Linked DNA regions of Homo sapiens: region 2 is linked to region 1. Evidence: promoter capture Hi-C in human tissues and cell types (Jung and others, 2019). All regions are on one chromosome and are shown on one strand. Each heading gives the region's core, a stretch centred on a gene start or on the middle of the fragment in contact. The rest is flanking DNA. Distances are from core to core; before and after follow the strand shown.

What was found. Contacts are between HindIII fragments. The study calls those that stand out against the background at their distance.
Region 2: a fragment that was not itself captured here is called in contact with the fragment with the promoter of KRTCAP3 in region 1 in 6 of the 25 tissues and cell types used here (H1 embryonic stem cells, IMR-90 fibroblasts, bladder and 3 more).

Annotation. Positions count from the first base shown.
Region 1 is chr2:27,440,261-27,444,048 of GRCh38, forward strand. KRTCAP3 (keratinocyte associated protein 3) reads left to right here and starts at 2,121. Exons shown (of 7, transcript NM_173853.4): 1 at 2,121-2,180; 2 at 2,319-2,503; 3 at 2,582-2,641; 4 at 2,814-3,020; 5 at 3,138-3,272; 6 at 3,689-3,788. The coding sequence starts at 2,153. NRBP1 (nuclear receptor binding protein 1) reads left to right here. Exons shown (of 18, transcript NM_013392.4): 12 at 143-248; 13 at 392-442; 14 at 545-680; 15 at 867-920; 16 at 1,007-1,070; 17 at 1,307-1,362; 18 at 1,448-1,999. The coding sequence ends at 1,552. RefSeq lists an enhancer at 2,256-2,798. The HindIII fragment of the contact is 11,668 bases long and covers 1-3,788 here.
Region 2 is chr2:27,571,839-27,575,626 of GRCh38, forward strand. SPATA31H1 (SPATA31 subfamily H member 1) reads left to right here. Exons shown (of 5, transcript NM_032266.5): 5 at 1-3,788. Among named protein-coding and RNA genes, the nearest start is that of ZNF512, 9.3 kb to the right of the region's middle. The HindIII fragment of the contact is 4,221 bases long and covers 1-3,788 here.

The DNA of each region.
Region 1 (3,788 bases), core at 871-3,370:
GGCTTCCCAAAGTGCTGGGATTACAGGCATGAGCCACTGTGCCAGGCCTCCAAAGGGATTCTTTACCCCTTTGCCTGCATGCCTTCTTTGACATTTAATCTGACTATCCCTTCATAATATCCCACTCCATCATGCCCTCCAGACATGATCCCAGAGAACGCTCTAGAGGAGATCACCAAAAACATGGATACTAGTGCCGTACTGGCTGAAATCCCTGCAGGACCAGGAAGAGAACCAGTTCAGACTTTGTGAGTAACTGAGAGGGTCTGAAAGGGGCAGATTGGTCACGACCACTCTTGAGGCTCTGTAAACTGTCCATTCTCTGGGAATGCTTGAATTTGCTATTTTGCTTGTTTCTTTCCTTCCATCTCCTTTCTCTTTTCTCGTCCAGGTACTCTCAGTCACCAGCTCTGGAATTAGATAAATTCCTTGAAGATGTCAGGTGAGAGCAGAGTGAGAAGCAGGCTTTCTTGAGGAAGCAGGCGGGGTTGGGTATCCTAAGGCGTTCACAGAGCCCATGTGACCTGTCTTCATCTCCCTCCAGGAATGGGATCTATCCTCTGACAGCCTTTGGGCTGCCTCGGCCCCAGCAGCCACAGCAGGAGGAGGTGACATCACCTGTCGTGCCCCCCTCTGTCAAGACTCCGACACCTGAACCAGCTGAGGTGGAGACTCGCAAGGTGGGGGCTGTGTGGGTGTGGATTGTCTCCATGGTTGTGGTGGAAGGGAGAGAGGACATCTCAAATAAGGCTCTATCCTTTAGAGAAAATGCTCCCTAGCAGCCATGCCCTATGGGCTCGAAAGACGTCTAGGTATTGGGTTTTTTATGGACAGGTCTCTAGAGTGACCCTCTCTTCCCTCCCTAGGTGGTGCTGATGCAGTGCAACATTGAGTCGGTGGAGGAGGGAGTCAAACACCACGTAAGGCTCAGGGCTAGGGTTGCGCAGGGCTAGTAGCCAGAGGGTAGGGAAGAAAAGTCTCATTTTCTGACTGTCCTATTCTCCAGCTGACACTTCTGCTGAAGTTGGAGGACAAACTGAACCGGCACCTGAGCTGTGACCTGATGCCAAGTGAGTCTCTCCTTTCCCTCAGAGGATGGAGAGTCTATGAGCCTTATCTTTTAGGGACATATTCAGGGGTGGGGGAGGTGACAAGGCAGTAACACATTGACTCACATAGAATGACTATCTTAGACCCTAAAGCAGTGGGTGGATCTGACTGACAGTTTAGCCCTAGTGGGGCTGTCTGAAGGGCCCCAGGTCCCTCAGTCCCGTACTGTACTCACCCCCTCCTGTTTCTTTGTCAGATGAGAATATCCCCGAGTTGGCGGCTGAGCTGGTGCAGCTGGGCTTCATTAGTGAGGTGAGGTTTCTGCCTTCATCTGCCCTGGCTGCCCCCATGCCTTCTCTTCTCTCAGCCCCCATCTTACTGAGCTCTTCTCCCCCAGGCTGACCAGAGCCGGTTGACTTCTCTGCTAGAAGAGACCTTGAACAAGTTCAATTTTGCCAGGAACAGTACCCTCAACTCAGCCGCTGTCACCGTCTCCTCTTAGAGCTCACTCGGGCCAGGCCCTGATCTGCGCTGTGGCTGTCCCTGGACGTGCTGCAGCCCTCCTGTCCCTTCCCCCCAGTCAGTATTACCCTGTGAAGCCCCTTCCCTCCTTTATTATTCAGGAGGGCTGGGGGGGCTCCCTGGTTCTGAGCATCATCCTTTCCCCTCCCCTCTCTTCCTCCCCTCTGCACTTTGTTTACTTGTTTTGCACAGACGTGGGCCTGGGCCTTCTCAGCAGCCGCCTTCTAGTTGGGGGCTAGTCGCTGATCTGCCGGCTCCCGCCCAGCCTGTGTGGAAAGGAGGCCCACGGGCACTAGGGGAGCCGAATTCTACAATCCCGCTGGGGCGGCCGGGGCGGGAGAGAAAGGTGGTGCTGCAGTGGTGGCCCTGGGGGGCCATTCGATTCGCCTCAGTTGCTGCTGTAATAAAAGTCTACTTTTTGCTAAAAGCGTCGTGTGTTCGCGCCTTTCCCGCCAGGGGGAGCGGGCCCGGGGCGGAGGCGGGGCCCAGGTGGGAGGGGGACCCGGGACGGAGGCGGGGCCCAGGTTGGGGCGGGGCCGGGCCCAGGTACAGCGGCCCTGCGGCTGGCGCGGCGGACGGGATGAGGCGCTGCAGTCTCTGCGCTTTCGGTAACTTCCGGGCCCTGGCGTCTCGTCTCCTTACCCTGGGGCTACCCTTGCCCCGTCCTACTGCCCGCGGTTAACCCGCCGCGAGCCGCCTCTCCCCTCCCCGCCCGACTCAACCCTGCCCTCCCCCGTGCTTTGCAGACGCCGCCCGGGGGCCCAGGCGGCTGATGCGTGTGGGCCTCGCGCTGATCTTGGTGGGCCACGTGAACCTGCTGCTGGGGGCCGTGCTGCATGGCACCGTCCTGCGGCACGTGGCCAATCCCCGCGGCGCTGTCACGCCGGAGTACACCGTAGCCAATGTCATCTCTGTCGGCTCGGGGCTGCTGGTGAGCGCGGCAGGCGACCCGGGCGGGGGCCGGGCTCCCGGAGAGCCCAGCAGGCCAAAGGCTTTGTGTCTTCCACAGAGCGTTTCCGTGGGACTTGTGGCCCTCCTGGCGTCCAGGAACCTTCTTCGCCCTCCACTGGTGAGAGGGACTTCCCTGGAGCTTTTAACGAGTAGGCTTGAGTCAGGGAAATGGGGGCTGACTGAGCTTGGTCTTTCAATAGATTGGAGGAGCCTCAGAGAAACTGGGTGTCTAGTCACTGGGAGAGTTAGCCAGGCCCAGGCTGCTCACCCTGATCTCCTGTCCCTGCCAGCACTGGGTCCTGCTGGCACTAGCTCTGGTGAACCTGCTCTTGTCCGTTGCCTGCTCCCTGGGCCTCCTTCTTGCTGTGTCACTCACTGTGGCCAACGGTGGCCGCCGCCTTATTGCTGACTGCCACCCAGGACTGCTGGATCCTCTGGTACCACTGGATGAGGGGCCGGGACATACTGACTGCCCCTTTGACCCCACAAGAATCTATGTGAGCACATTCTCTTCCTTCTTGTGGTCTACAAAGCCTTGGTCCTGCCCTTTTAATTTCCCCTATTTGCTGCACTTGCCCTACTCCCTCCTACTCCCCATCCTTCTTGCTTTTCAGGATACAGCCTTGGCTCTCTGGATCCCTTCTTTGCTCATGTCTGCAGGGGAGGCTGCTCTATCTGGTTACTGCTGTGTGGCTGCACTCACTCTACGTGGAGTTGGGCCCTGCAGGAAGGACGGACTTCAGGGGCAGGTAAGGAAGGCAAACAGGAAGGGTTCATTCCACAGAGACTGGCTGTGTTGAAAAGATGCTGACCGGCCGGGTGCGGAGGCTCACACCTGTAATCCCAGCACTTTGGGAGGCTGAGGCAGGCGGATCACTTGAGGTCAGGAGTTTGAGACCAGCTTGGACAACATGGTGAAACCTCGTCTCTACTAAAAATACAAAAAATTAGGTGGGGTGGTGGGCGCCTGTAATCCCAGCTACTTGGAAGGCTGAGGCAGGAGAATCGCTTGAACCCGGAAGGCGGAGGTTGCAGTGAACCGAGATCACGCCACTGCACTCCAGCCTGGGCAACAGAGTGAGGCTCCGTCACAAAAAACAAAACAAAAAAAAGATGCTGACCTATCATTCAGGGCGAGGGTGTCTAACTCTATCTTCTTCTGCAGCTAGAGGAAATGACAGAGCTTGAATCTCCTAAATGTAAAAGGCAGGAAAATGAGCAGCTACTGGATCAAAATCAAGAAATCCGGGCATCACAGAGAAGTT
Region 2 (3,788 bases), core at 517-3,016, 130 kb after region 1:
TTTGTGAATATAACCAGAGGAGAAGAGTTTGAAGAAGTAAAATCTGTGGATTTAGCCCTAAAGCAACAGTTTCAAGGGATGGCACCTGTGGATTTAACCCTTGAGCCTGAACAGGATGGTCAGATATCTGTAAACTCACAAGAGCAGCAATGTGTGAATTTTGAGCAAGTAAAGAAAGGGTCTGAGTCAGAAGGTGTAATGTCTTTGGAGTTAATTCCAGAGCCAAAATCTGAAGGTATAAAATCGGTAGACCTCAAGTCTGACCTACAGTCGAAAGGTATAAAATCATCTGAATTGACTCCAGAATCAAATATGCAAGATGTAAAAGCTAAAGAGTTCAAACATGAACCACAGTTGCAAAGTATGAAATCTCCCAAGTTGACCCCAGGACCACAGTTGCACCAAGTGAAACCCTTGGGCTCGACTGTAGAGCCACAGATTCAAAGTGTGAAAATTGTGGAGTTAAACAAAGAGCTAGAGCTTGGAAGAATGAAATCTGTTCAGTGGATAACAAGACCTGAGTTCCAAGGTCTAAAATCTGTAGGGTTAAATCTTGGGTCACAATCTCGAAGTGTCAAACCTGCAGAATTGAAACTTTCCATACAGTTGGGAGATATGATAGCATCTAAATTGGTTCTAGAGCCAAAACTTCAAGGTGCAAAACCTATGGAGTTTAACCGTGGGCCACAGTTGCAGTGTGTAAAAACCTCTGAGTTGTCTTCAGGACCACAGCTGCAAAAAGGGAAAATGCTAGCATCCACCTCAGAGCCACAACTTCAAGGTGTGAAAACTGTGGAGTTAAACCAAGACTCACAGCTTACAAGTGTGAAATCTGTGCAGTGGATACCAGGACCTGAGTTCCAAGGTGTAAAAACTATAGGGTTAAATCTTGGTTCACAATCTCAAGGTGTCAAACCTGGAGAGTCGAAATCTTCCATAGAGTCAGGAGGTGTAAAGTCATCTCAACTGACTCTAGGGCCAAAACTTCAAAGTGTAACATCTATGGAGTTTAACCTTGGGTCACAGTTGCACTTTGTGAAAGCTCCTGAGTTGTCCCAAGGACCACAGCTGCAAAAAGGGAAAATTCCAGCATCGACCTCAGAGCCATATTTTCAAGGTGTGAAAACTGTAGAGCTAAACCAAGACTCACAGCTTGGAAATGCGAAATCTGTGCAGTGGATATCAGGACCTGAGTTCCAAGGTGTAAAAACTGTAGGGTTGAATCTTGGTTCACAATCTCGAGGTGTCAAGCCTGCAGAGTTGAAATCCTCCACAGAGTCGGGAGGTGTAAAATCATCTGAATTGACTCTAGGGCCAAAACTTCAAGGTGCAAAACCTGTGGAGTTTAACTTTGGGCCACAGTTGCAATGTGTGAAAACTCCTAAGATGTCCCGAGGACCACAGTTGCAGAAAGGGAAAATTCTGGCGTCAACCTCAGAGCCACAGCTTCAAGGTGTAAAAGATGTGGAGTCAAACAAAGACTCACAGCTTGGAAGTGTGAACTCTGTGCAGTGGATACCAGGACCTGAGTTCCAAGGTGTGAAATCTGTGCTAAAATGTGGTTCACAATCTCGAGTTGTCACAACTGTAGAATTGAAACCTTCAGTACAATTAAGAAATGTGAAGTCATCTGAGTTGACTCCAAGGCCAAAGCTCCAAAGTATACAACCTTTGACATCACTCCAGGAACATCAGTTGCCAGGGCTCAAACCTATTGCTTTGAAATCTGGGCTACAGTTGAGAACTGTGAAATCATGTGGCCCAATTTCAACATCAAAGCTCTGTGATATAAAATCTATGGCATTCAAACCTGGGCTTCACTCGCAAGATGTGAAATCTTCTGAGTTGACCCCAAGACCACAGCTGCACAAAGTGAAACCCTTGGAGGCATGCCCAGGAACACAGCTGCAAGATGTGAAGTCTCCAGCGTTTACACAAGTGCCACAGTTTTCAGGGGTGAAATCTGGAGTATTAAGCCAAGAGCTACCATTACAAAGTGATAAAACTGTAGCGCTGAACTCCTTACTACACTTGAAAAGCAAGAAATCATCTGAATTGGCTCATCAGACAGAACTTCCAGGTATGAAATCTGAGGAGTTCAACTCTGGGCCACAATGGCAATGTGTCAAATCTTCTAAGTTGAACCCTAAGACAAAGTCCCAAGACATGAAGTTTAGAGAGTTAAACCCCAGTTCACAATTGAAAGATATCCCATATTATGATTTGACCACAAGGACCAAGATTCAAGGTGTCAAATCTACAGACTTCAAACCTGGGCCACAGTTGCAAGGAGTGAAATCTTCTGAGTCGATACCGAAGACAAAGCTTCAAGAAGTGAAATTAATGGAATGCAACTCAGGCCCACGGTTGCAAGATTTGAAATCTTCTAGGTTGATCATTGGTATAAAGTGTCAAGACATTAAATCTATGGATTTCAGTTCTGGACCACACTTACAGACTGTGAAATCTTCTGAAGTGATTCCAGGGGGAAAGCTTCAGGGTGTGAAATCGGTAGAATTCAAACCTAGTCCAAAGTTACAAAGTGAGAAATCTGATTTGACCCTGGGGAGGAAGTTTCCAGGTGTGAAATCTGTAGAGCTGGAATCAGGCCCACAGTTACAAGATATAAAATCTTCTGATCTGATCATGGGTATAAAGCTTCAAGATGTAAAATCTATGAAGTTCAGTTCTGGACAACACTTTCAAGGTATAAAATCTTCTGAGGTAACCTCAGGGACAAGGCTTCAAAGTATGAAATCAATGGATTTCAATTCTGGACAACAGACACAAAGCGAAAAATCTTCTGAGTTGATTCAGGGAACAAACCATCAAGATGTTAAATCTGTAGAATTCCACCATGGTCTAAAGTTACAAGGTGTGACATCTTCTGAGTTAACACCAGAGACAAAGCTTCAAGGTGGGGAATCTGTGGAGTTCAACTCGGGCCCACAGTGGCAAGATACAAAATATTCTAACTCAATAATGGGGACAGAGCTTCAAGATGTAAAATCTATGGAGTTCAGTTCTGGATCACACTTGCAAGGTATGAAATCTTCTGAAGTGATCCCAGCGACAAAGCTTCAAAAAGTGAAATCTGTGCTCATGCCTAGGCCAATGCGGCAAGATGTGAAATCTTCTGAATTGACTGTAGGTACAAAGGTACAGGATAGGACATCTTTGGAGTTAAGCTCAACTTCACAGTTACAAGATAGAAAATTATCTATGTTGACACCAGGGATACACCTTCAGGGTGTGAAATCTGTAGAATATAATCCTGGGGCAAAGTTGGAAGATATGAAATCTGGGTTGATAAAGCTTCAGACGGTGAACTCTACAGAAGGCAACCATGACCCAGAATTGCAGGTTGCAAAACTCTCTAAGTTGGCCTTGGAATCAAAGATTCATAGTGTGGCACCTTCTGAGTTCAATGCTGAAAAGCAGCAGCAAGATGAGAAATCTCATAAATTGAATCCATGGCCAGACCTTCAAAGTGTAAAATTTATGGTGTTCAATCCTGAGCCACATCTGCAACATAGAAAATCTTCAGAATTATGCACAGGGACAAAGCTTCAAGATGTAAAATCTATGAAATTCAATCTTCAGCAACAGTTGCAAGGTGTGAAATCTTCTGAGTTGTGCCTAGGAACAAGGCTTCAAGGTATACAATCTTTAGATTTCAACCCTGGACCACAGTTGCAAGGAACAAAATCTGCCAAGTTGAATCCTGGGCCTGAGCTTCAAGGTATAAAATCTAAGGTGTTCTGCCTTGGACCACATTTGCAAGATGT